4 separate regions of the Homo sapiens genome follow, and regions 2, 3 and 4 are each linked to region 1. The links are contacts of gene promoters, found by promoter capture Hi-C in blood cells and fetal thymus (Javierre and others, 2016). All regions are on one chromosome and are shown on one strand. The core of a region is centred on a gene start or on the middle of the fragment in contact, and the rest is flanking DNA. Distances in the headings are between cores, read along the strand shown. Region 1 holds the start of CHTF8 (chromosome transmission fidelity factor 8). Region 2 has its middle 32 kb from the start of ZFP90. Region 3 overlaps ZFP90 (ZFP90 zinc finger protein). Region 4 holds the start of WWP2 (WW domain containing E3 ubiquitin protein ligase 2).

Region 1 (2,700 bases), core at 125-2,624:
GATACTCCCTGCAGGAAATTTTGCTTACCAAAGCTGCAATGGTGTTGAGACTGATATACCAACAATTTCCCTTCCTGTGTCCAAAAGATCCAGCAAACCTCAGTTTCCAATGACAGGCAGTGAGATGTCACATTTCTAGGTAGGACCCTTCTAATCAACATTACACAGATTGAAACTGAGCTTCTCTTATCAGTTAGGAGATCTCAGAAGTTTGGTAGTTCTAAGCAACTTCAGAGGGGCTAGGAAGTCACTCAATCAGTTTGATTATAAAAGACATACAAGCTTCTTGAACTTCAGAAGAAATTAACATCAAAACACCATATCAGACTCCCAAATGACTTACTTTCTCCTGAAAGTAGTTTGCTGACAAGTTATAAATTTCCACAGTGCCATCTGTTCGTGAAACAGCCAATCTGTTTGACTGGTTATTGTAAGCCACACAGCGGATTCCTGATGGAACATAATTAAAGAAACGTACTCGATGGACCTTAAATTCACCCATTCCTAGGGGGCGAAAAGAGAGTCATTATTGCTATATGTTAACTGCAGTATGTCACATATAGTATTCAGTTCCTTAATATCACTGTTCTGGCTGGAAGGCTCCAACAACATCTCCCTGAAGTTCATTTCCAAATGGCTGCTAACAATGCCCCCCACAAGAATTACTCAATCTTCAAAAGCTCAGAATGGCTTGAATAATAAGGAGGCTTCAGCAAAAAATCAAAAAGGGTCCTACTCCATAGCTCCAGAGTTCCTATCTCGGGGCGCCTAGGAATCCGCATTTTAGCAAGCATCTCTCCTCAACTCTATTGCTAAGTTTGCAAACAACAGACCTAAACTGAGGTAGTGACAGTGAGGCTGATGGGGCAGGCAGAACCGAGCTCCTCTTGAGGAAGAAACGACAGGGTTTGACTTAATCTGGCTGCCTGGTCTGACGTCTGTCACTTACCCTACCCCGTCCCCCCGACGCCCGCCAACATATATACTGGCCGAGAGTAGAGACCAGGTCTTGTTCGCCCCTCACTGGCCTAGCTTCAAGGTTAGGAACCCGCAGACAGAGCAAGCGCGTTCGGTCGGGCCGGGGCGTCTGAGGCGCGCGCGGTCTTCGCCTCCCCTTCCCTCTCCCCGAGTCTACAGAGTAGCCCCCACCCCGCCTCGGGACAAGGAGACCCTCGGGACAAGGAGCTCAGCCGGACGCCGACCCTGGGCCGGCCACCTTGTAAGACCCCCCCAGCTCTCGCAGCCGCTTCCCACGCCCCTTCCCCAACTCACCAGCGGCCCCACGCTCCCCTTCCCGGTGCTCGCCTCTCTCCGCCCCGGCCCCACGTGCGCGCGCGCTCTCAGGCTCTGCCCCGGAAGTGCTCCTGGCGCATAGTCGGAAGTGCGCAGGCAGTGCTCGCGGCGGCGGCGACGGCGGCGGGAGGTTCGGTTGTCGCCCGTTGGCCGCGCGGCGCCGCGCTCGGCGGCCGCCATTGCAGGTCAGGCCGCGGGCGGGGGGCACGGGAGGCTGCGGGGAGCGAGGGCCGAGCCGGGATTGGGGGCGAGGGCGCGAGGGAGCGGGAAGCTAGGGAGCCGGGGCCGGGCGGGGCGCGCGGCTCGGAGAGAAGAATGGCGAGCCGAGGGGCGGGGAGCGCGGGCGGGGGAGGGGTGGCCGGGAAGGGGGAGGGCGGCGGGAGGGCGGCGCGGAGGTGGGGGCAAGCCCGGAGGGGCCTCCGGGGTGGGAGGGCCAGGAGTGTGGGGGAAGGGAGCGGTGTGGAGACGGAAGGCGGAGGGAAGGAAGGGAGCGAGCGGGGCGGAGCGGGAGAAGGGCGGAAAGGGTGGCCGAGCGCGGGCGGAGGACGGAGAAGGGGGCGGCGAGGGCCGGAATCTCGAGGTACGTGCGGGAAGGGGCTCTTCCCGGGGTTGGGAGGGAGCCCAGCCCGCTATGCTTGCGGGAGCGGAGTAGAACTGGAACCTAGGAAGTAGCGGGAAGAGCAGAAAGGGGAGTTCGGGGTGGGGGTTAGGACCGTGAGGTTTTGTTCCAGGTAACATTTGTAATCGTGGAGGGGGGAGGCTTCTGGGAGAGGTAATTGGAAGGGTGGTTGGAGAGTCATTCCAGGTTCTTTTGTGGGAGGGAAGCCGAGAGACGAGTGGGGTGGGGTCCTGGAGGAGTGGAGTACTTGAGAACCGGGAACAATTTGGAGAACGAGGGTGGTAGAGAAAGGACGTTTAAAGAGTAATCTTTGGGAAGAGGGTGAACGGTTTGGAAGACCACTCCAGTGGGTGGTGTGGAGGAAGGCGGTTTAAAGAATAGTTTCCCTGGGAGGCAGGAAAAGGGGTTAAAACAGCTTGTAATTTGGAGGGGGGTGGAGAAGAGGGGGGAAGCGGATTGAGAAGTCCCAGAAAGTGGGTGGGACTAGAAATAGGAAGTGTTTGTAGCTCTAGCAGAAAGGGTGGGAGGGGGCCGAGAGGGAGTGGGTGGAGAAGATGGGGGTGGGTGGGAGGAAGAGCACAGAGGGAGACTCTACGCCGGGCTAGAAAGGAAAGGGTTTGGGGGAGTACAGGGGGCCGTACCATTAAGAGGAGGACAGGCTAAGATGGGGCTGCAGAGTAGCAGAAGATGGAGAAAACTGCAGTAACTCAGATCGACTGAAGCCATCTTTTCCACCCATTGCTACAAATACCAGTAATTGATTCCCTCCAACGTGGGAATCCTAAAAT
Region 2 (2,700 bases), core at 89-2,588, 630 kb after region 1:
TGGATCATGCCTGTAATCCCAGCACTTTGGGAGGCCGAGGTGGGCGGATCACCTGAGGTCAGGAGTTGGAGACCAGCCTGGCTAACACGGCAAAACCCCATCTCTACTAAAAATGCAAAAATTAGCCGGGCATTCTGGGCGCCTGTAATCCCAGCTACACGGGAGGCTGAGGCTGGAGAATCACTTGAACCTGGAACCTGGGAGGTGGAGGTTGCAGTGAGCCAAGATCGTGCCATTGCACTCTAGCCTGGTCGACAAGAGCGAAACTCCATCTCAAAAACAAAAAACAAAAAACAAAACCAACAACCCTGCACTATGACGGGTCCTTAAGGAGTGAGTCATGGGCTCTCACTGCACACCAAGGAGCCCCACATGTGAAAATGCTTCTAGAAACATTGAGTGCTTGTAAAGACCTACTGCTGGGCATATTGGCCCTATTAGAGGGAACATTTTATCACACGAAGGCACAGGTAGGTTGTTTCATGGTAATTGCTTTCCTAAACCATAGAGAAAAACGCATCACAAACCCAGCACAGTTAACTAAAGTGGTCACATTCCTCTTCTTTGATTTAAAGCTATTTAGAAATATTAGCAACTGACTTTGCCTCCAGGTTGTCGGTGCTTTTTTTTCTCGACTGTAACTTTTTCTTTTGAATCCCATGAAATATCCTGAGTACACCAGGAGGGAGGAATGAAAATATGTTTGCATTTCCAGCTCTGCAGCCAACTGCTACTCAGACAATACCCTCAATGTGTAACCTGGGAGTTTAATATTCTCAAATATTTATAATTACGCAGAAACAGCCCGAAGAAATGTTCAGCTTCTTCACAGCTGGATAATTATCTACATTCAATGTTCACAACCTCAGAGCTGCTTCTCAGAGTTTGGGGTGCCTCTCTGCCACTTGGGCATGCAGAGTACATGGGTTCTGTGGGCAGATTCCTAACGGGGCATAGAAGTGGCATGGGGAGATCCCATGCCAGCGTGCTCTCTCTCTCTCTCTCAAGAGTCCTGCTCTGTGGTACAGGCTGGAGTGCAGTGGTACAATCATTGCTCACGGTAGCCTCGAACTCCTGGGCTCAAGCAGTCCTCCCACCTCAGCCTCCCGAGTAGCTGGGACCACAGACGCATGCCACCGCACTTGGTTATTATTTTTTAAAATTTCAATAGGTTTTGGGGGAACAGGTAGTGTTTGGTTACAAGGATATGTTCTTTAGCGGTGATTTCTGAGATTTTGATGCACCCATCACCCAAGCAGTCTACACTGTACCCAATGTGTAGTCTTTTATCCCTCACGCCTCTCCCATTTTTTTTTCGGACTAATTAAAAAAAAATTTTTTTTTTCGTAGAGACGAGATCTTACTTTGTTGCCTAGGCTGGTCTTGAACTCCTGGCCTCAAGCAATCCTCCCACCTCAGCCTCCCAAAGTGCTGGGATTACAGGGGGAAGAAAGGCTCAATCATTCCCAGCAAATTCTGTAATGGACCCATGAATAAAGTCCTACATTGAAGAGTCCCTGCGGAAGTGTCTCATGGAGTCCCAGATGCTCCCCACAAAAGGATGCTGTGGTCAAAGCAGCGCTGCCTCTGTCTGCCTTTGGAGAGGCACCATGCATTCTGCTATTCATACATTTTCTCCTTGCCTGGCATCTCTCCTGCTGCTCCCTCTGTTCCACGCATATTTCCAGAAGAATATCAAGAAAACTATTTTTCCTGCATAATTACCCGCCTCCTCTCCACCCACCTCCACACATCTTTTCGGCTTTGACGTGGCAGCTGCTCTGATTTCTTTAAGTGGACTGCATTCTGCATTTACCAGGCAGGTGGAATTCTATGAAGGGAGCCTCCAGCCGAGGCTGGGAGTGAGGGCCCTGGGCATGATCATCCCTCCCTGCACCAGACCTGCGGCTCCCCTGTCTGCATTGAGGTCCTCCTTCCCACAGTCCCTGGGGCACAAAGCTATTGGTTCCTGAATGAGTGTCACCAACCAACTGCCTGGTCCTCCTTCTCCCAAGCCCAGGCTGCCTCAGTCCTGACTCTGTGACCTGAAAGGAAATTCCTCTTTAGTGAGATCAGCTAGCATCTTCTCAGTTGTAGCTTTCAGAACAGTAGACCCAAACTAGCACAAACTAAAGAGAATGGGCTGTCCCATGGAACCAAACAGTCTTGAAGCCCCAGCTGAGGTTCAGGCGGGGCACTGTCGCTGCTGCTCTGGAATTCTTTCCACCTGCCTGCCTTGGGCTATGGGCTTCATCTCCAGGCCAGCCATGCCCAACACAGCAAAGGGTTCAAAGATGTGCCAAACCCTGGTTCACGCTCTGACTGCCTGGAAGAGCCAGCAGTTCCTTCTCCAGGTGGCTTCTACAAATTATCAAGAAAGCATCTTCCCTTGCTGGGTGTGGTGGCTTACACCTATAATCCCAGCATTTTGAGAGGCTGAGGCCGGTGTATCACTTAAGGTCAGGAGTTTGAGACCAGCCTGACCAACATGGCAAAACCCCATCTCTACTAAACATACACAAATTAGCTGGACTTGGTGGCAGGCACCTATAATCCCAGCTGCTTGGGAGGCTGAGGCAGGAGAATTGCTTGGACCTGGGAGGCAGAGGTTGCAGTGAGCCGAGATCATGCCAGTGCACTCCAGCCTGGGCAACAGAGTAAGACTCTGTTTCTAAATAAATAAATAAGAAAGCATCTTCC
Region 3 (2,719 bases), core at 18-2,517, 580 kb after region 1:
AGGACATGTACAAATACAGTTTGCCCAATCAGAAAACATCACATTTACGGCAATACAGTGTGGTATCTCCACTTAAGCACTAAGTGGCCTCTGATACCAGATTGATCATAGTTTAACAAGCCGATAGTTGACCGTGTAACTAACAATGGTGTACAGAGAGAAGAACATCACTGTCAACCTTTGCACACACACAGATTCCTACTGCATCACCATCTGCAGTATTGAAGACTGGAAACCTGGACCTCCTCCTTGACTCTTCATTTTTCCTTTATGCCTTGCAGTCACCAAAAGCCTCAGAAATGTCTCCTGAATTCAGTCCCTTGCCTTCATCCTTCAAATCCAGCTGAAATCCTCCCTTGCTAATGACAGCATTAATCCAGGGAATGGCAATCTACAGCCACACAGTCTAATATGGCAGCCACTGGCCACATGTGGCTATTCATTATGTTTTTAAATTAAGGATTTAGATGTTCACCCAATTACAAACTGGTTTTAAATGCTAGGAGGAAAAGAAAAAGAGCAGACAAACTTAAAAGTCACACTTGCAATGTAGCTAGTCCAAATGGGCATGTGTGATTAAGCAAAATACACACTGGGCCAGGCGCAGTGGCTCACACCTATAATCCCAGCACTTTGGGAGGCTGAGGTGAGTGGATCACCTGAGGTCAGGAGTTTGAGACCAGCCTGGCCAACATGGAGAAACCTAGTCTCTACAAAAATACAAAAATTACCTAGGTGTGGTGGCACATGCCTGTAATCCCAGGAGGCTGAGGCAGGAGAATGGCTTGAACCCAGGAGGCGGAGGTTACAGTGAGCCAAGATTGCGCCACTACACTCCAGCCTGGGCGACAGAGTGAGACTCTGTTTCAAATAAATAAAATAAAATAAAATACACACCGAATTTCAAAGATTTACTATCAAGGAAAGAATGTAAAATGCCTCATTAGTAATTTTAAAACATTTATCACATGTAGAGATGATAATATTCTGGATATATTGTTTTAAATAATATTTATTACTAAAATTAATTTCACCTGTTTCTTTTTATATTGTAGCCACTAGAAAACTTAAAATTACACATGGAATGTGTATTTCTTTGGCACACCACCGTTCTACATTGTTCTAGGTCTCCACCTCAGGCCATCTTTCTCTCAAATGCTGCCTCCTGTCATATACCCAAAGCTTCTGCCACATGGACTCTTTGGCCCAGTAACAACATTTTCTTTTGTGTTTCTTTGCCTTTATACATCCTATTCTGACCATAATGTACTTTCTTCCCTCAGTTCCACAGGAAAAATTCCTAGTCATCCTTGTAGAACCAGTTCACTGTTCCATTCCCTCCTGAAGCTTCCCCACATCCTCCGTGCTCCCCATCCCCCTTCAGCATTTGGTCCCCATCTCCATTTCAGAACCGTAGCCATCTAGTTACATTTTTCTCCCTCAAGACTTTTTTTTTTTTTTTTTTTTGAGATGGAGTCTTGCTCAGTCGCCCAGGCTGGAGTGCAGTGGCACGATCTCGGCTCACTGCAAGCTCCGCTTCCCAGGTTCACGCCATTCTCCTGCCTCAGCCTCCCGAGTAGCTAGGAGTACAGGCACCCGCCACCACGCCCAGCTAATTTTTTTTGTATTTTTAGTAGAGACGGGGTTTCACCATGTTAGCCAGGATGGTCTTGATCTCCTGACCTCGTGATCCACCTGCCTCAGCCTCCCATAGTGCTGGGATTACAGGCATGAGCCACCGCGCCCAGCCAAAAATTTCTTAAACTCCTTTTCATTTCAGTATCTCTGACACTGCAAGTGGAGAGTGTCCAGAATCACCTGGGCAGCTTTTCTAAATTGTCCATGCATGGAGGGTCTTGCCCAGCATCTTTTAAAAGCTCCTCAGGTGGTTCATTATCAAAGAGCAACAGCTCAGATTTCTTGAACACTCGCTGCTAGGCAAACACTAAACTCAGTCATTTACGTGCACTCTCACCACATTTCCTCACTGAAGCCTTGTCACCACCCCAGAGGAAGCAGGCACCACTTCCTGACTGGTTCTGAAGCATGACCCTGGTTAAGAACCACTGCCTGGCATAGAGCAAGCATTCCAAACACGTCTGCTGAGTGAATGGATACAGAATCTGGGTAATTCTCAATGCAGGAAAATGAGGAGTTGTTTCGAGGATTAAAAAAAAACACATGGGTTAGTGAATTAAATTCTTGGATTATAAAAAACAGAGGCAAACAGAAAAACGATGGCATTAACAGCCAAATCTAAGGCTGGTTCCTCTTAAGCACCAGCCAAATAGAAAAACCTCTGATAAATCGAGTAAGAAGAAATTTTTAAAAGATGAACTTAAAGATAGGAGGATAAGGCTGGGCACAGTGGCTCATGCCTGTAATCCCAGCACTTTGGGAGGCCGAGGCGGGCGAATCACCTGAGGTCGGGAGTTCGAGACCAGCCTGACCAACATGGAGAAACCCCATCTCTACTAAAAATACAAAATTAGCCGGGTGTGGAGGTGCATGCCTGTAATCCCAGCTACTCAGGAGGCTGAGGCAGGAGAATTGCTTGAACCTGGGAAGCGGAGGTAGCGGTGAGCCGAGATTGCGCCATTGCACTCCAGCCTGGGCAATAAGAGCGAAACTCCGTCTCAATAAAAAAAAAAAAAAAAAAAAAAAAAAAAAAGGAGGATAAACAGAACAGTGAAATATACACACTAGTGTGTTAAGAAAT
Region 4 (2,700 bases), core at 173-2,672, 630 kb before region 1:
AAAATATGAAACCTGCCCTTGAAGGATTTGCAATCTAGCAGGAAGAGGCCAGCAAACAAGAAAGAGCAATAAATTGTTTTAAAAAATCAAGTCGTCTCTCGTAAGTCTGTTTGTTCCCTGTGAAATGAGAATACATCTTCCCAACCTCACTCATAGGCGCTGCTGCAAAAACTAATTTTTAAATGTTTGTCAAATAACTCCAAAAACTTGAACTCATAATACATTAGGAAAGTACTTTTTCCTACTTGTAACCCAAAACGATGCTGGCTGCTGTGAATGTCCAGTTTGAACATTCGTTCCAGTTACACTGCACTCATGAAACTCCTTTTGCTTCTGCAAATTTTAGTAAACATGAGAAACAGGAAGATGAACAGGCTTTAACACAAGTATTCAATCTCAAAATCATGATCCAGGTCACAGTTCTAAGGAACATAACACAGACCTCTCAGGCACCCTACCTAGTTACAGTTCGTCAAGATAAGCAGTCACAAGATAAGCTAAGGGAAACTGAATAATTTAAACGGAAGAAAGAGAAAAGTCATAAAGCAGTCTAGGTAGACACTTCTCTGTCCAAGATTTCAGCAGTCACTATGTTGCTGAGGTAACGCTGGGCTAGGTCAACAGTGTAAGCTAAAAGCCATTTTACAGGCAAAGTGCCCACACTTATTTTTTTAATTTATTTTCTTTTTTTGTTTTTTAAAGCCTCGATGATGGCCCGTTCAGGGAAAATCTCAAAGAAAAATGAGCTGAAGGGCTAGGCTCCCAAGAAGTGGAAACCCTACCCACGCAGGACTAAGTGGGCGCGAGGGAAGCAAGACGATCAAGATTCTGTGATCCCTCCTGAAGTTTAAAAACTGAATGGGACCGTCATCAAAGTCTCGGGTAACAATCATTTCCAAACAGGAAGGAAGGGAGAGACTCTCAGAGGGGGTCCAGGCAGCATCTTTTTCCCTCTGGCTCCACGCCATAAACCCATTTTCAGGCACCCCCTTCCAGCTCAGTTCCAAGTCGCCCCTTCCCCTGGTCCCGATCCCTCCACAAAGATCGCTCCTCTCCATGCCTGGGAACCTAAGCTCCTCTCCCCTTCCGGGAGGACTCGCTCCAGCTGCACCCTTGGCGGCCGGGGCACCCATTTCGGAGCAACCCCCGCGCGGGCCGCGGCGCGCCCACCCCACTCGGGCGGGAGCCGGGACACCCCTCCTCGGAGGCCGGAACCGCCGCGCCAGGCCCCTCCCACAGGAAGCCGCCGCCCCCCGACGCCCGGGCCGCGCCGCCCCCGGCCCACCCCGCGCCGCCCGCCGCCCCCGGCCCGCCCCGTGCAGGCAGCCAGCCCACCGCGCCCCCCGCGCCAGCGCTCGCTACCTGCCGTGGCCACAGAAGCGGCGCCGAACTCCTCTCCTACTTCCGCCTTCCACCGCCCGCACTCGGGCCGGGTCACGTGACCGCGCGCGGTCACCTGACCCGGAAGAGGCTGGCCAGGCTCGCAGGTGCGGGCCACCTAGGCCTGGCCTGGGCACCTCTGGCCTCGAGGAGGCCTTTTTATCGTCTCTGTAGTTGAAAGTGGAAGGGTTTCTGCTCACCGGATGGTCCCAGGCAATCAAATAAATTGAGGGCTCACTGAATGCCACCTACTCTGCCCATCAACCTTATAGAGGCAGGGACAGGTACTAGCCCCATTTTACAGGTGAAACGAGACCTTCAGACTGTTAAGTCAGCAAATACTTAATTGAGCTCCTTTAGTAGGGTTGCCAGATAAAGTACAGGACACCCACTTAAATTTGAATTTCAGATAAACAACAGTGTAATATGTATGTCCCAAATACAGAATGGGACATATTTATACTAAAAAAAGTATTTTTTGATTATCTGAAGATCAAATTGAATTGAGTATCTGTATTTCTATTTCCTGGCAACCTTATGCCTATTATGTGCCAGGCACTGTTCTAAGATCCAGGACCACAAACATCTCAGCCTTTGTGGGGCATCTGTCCTTGTGACATGAAGCAAAAGTACAAAAGCTTAAAAACTCCTGCTTGGCTCCATAAAAAGCCCCTCCACACTAATCCAATCGCATTCCCTTAATCTACAACTACAGGGCACAGAGAACTTAATGAATTATAATCCAGGTAGGTAGGTAGGTAGGTAGGTGGATAGATAGATGATATTTTTTTTTTTTTTTTTGAGATGGAGCCTCGCTCTGTCGCCCAGGCTGGAGTGCAGTGGTGCAGTCTCAGCTGACTGCAACCTCCGTCTCGCCGGTTCATGCAATTCTCCTGCCTCAGCCTCCCGAGTAGCTGGGATTACAGGCGTGCACCACCACGCCTGGCTAATTTTTGCATTTTTAGTAGAGACAGGGTTCCTCCATGTTGACCAGTCTGGTCTCGAACACCTGACTTCAAATGATCCGCCCACCTTGGCCTCCCAAAGTGCTGGGATTACAGGCATGAACCACCGCACCTGGCAGAGAAATATTTTTTTTAAGAGATGGGTCTGGATAGGTTGCTTTGGCTGGGCTCGAACTCCCAGCTTCAAGCAGTCCTCTTGCTTCAGCCTCCCAAGTAGCTGAGACTACAGGCGAATGCCACTGTGCCTGCCCAATAACTTTATTTATTTATTTATTTATTTATTTATTTGCTTGCTTGAGACAGAGTTTCACTCTTGTAGCCCAGGCAGGAGTGCAGTGGCTCAATCTTGGCTCAC

The links. The method cuts DNA at HindIII sites, captures the fragments that hold promoters and counts their contacts. A CHiCAGO score of 5 or more calls a contact.
Region 2: a contact is called between a fragment that was not itself captured here and the fragment with the promoter of CHTF8 in region 1, in 4 of 17 cell types (fetal thymus, naive CD4 T cells, naive B cells and 1 more). The highest score is 6.3, in fetal thymus.
Region 3: a fragment that was not itself captured here is called in contact with the fragment with the promoter of CHTF8 in region 1 in 4 of 17 cell types (total B cells, naive CD4 T cells, total CD8 T cells and 1 more); the score reaches 7.8 in total B cells.
Region 4: a contact is called between the fragment with the promoter of WWP2 here and the fragment with the promoter of CHTF8 in region 1, in 17 of 17 cell types (total B cells, activated CD4 T cells, non-activated CD4 T cells and 14 more). The highest score is 32.7, in total B cells.

Annotation. Positions count from the first base shown.
Region 1 is chr16:69,131,262-69,133,961 of GRCh38, reverse strand. It overlaps CHTF8 (chromosome transmission fidelity factor 8), which reads left to right and starts at 1,374. Exons shown (of 4, transcript NM_001039690.5): 1 at 1,374-1,478. DERPC (DERPC proline and glycine rich nuclear protein) reads left to right here and starts at 1,374. Exons shown (of 3, transcript NM_001002847.4): 1 at 1,374-1,478. It overlaps UTP4 (UTP4 small subunit processome component), which reads right to left and starts at 1,313. Exons shown (of 17, transcript NM_032830.3): 1 at 1,273-1,313; 2 at 344-504. The coding sequence starts at 502. RefSeq lists silencers at 1,265-1,624, 1,645-1,794. The HindIII fragment of the contact is 3,017 bases long and covers 285-2,700 here.
Region 2 is chr16:68,505,840-68,508,539 of GRCh38, reverse strand. No RefSeq gene overlaps it. Among named protein-coding and RNA genes, the nearest start is that of ZFP90, 32 kb to the left of the region's middle. RefSeq lists an enhancer at 15-515. The HindIII fragment of the contact is 8,227 bases long and covers 1-2,700 here.
Region 3 is chr16:68,548,427-68,551,145 of GRCh38, reverse strand. All of the region lies in intron 2 of ZFP90 (ZFP90 zinc finger protein), which reads right to left. Among named protein-coding and RNA genes, the nearest start is that of ZFP90, 10 kb to the right of the region's middle. The HindIII fragment of the contact is 165 bases long and covers 1,185-1,349 here.
Region 4 is chr16:69,761,054-69,763,753 of GRCh38, reverse strand. It overlaps WWP2 (WW domain containing E3 ubiquitin protein ligase 2), which reads right to left and starts at 1,422. Exons shown (of 24, transcript NM_001270454.2): 1 at 1,363-1,422. RefSeq lists silencers at 946-995, 1,016-1,175, 1,196-1,335 and an enhancer at 1,039-1,617. The HindIII fragment of the contact is 2,162 bases long and covers 1-2,020 here.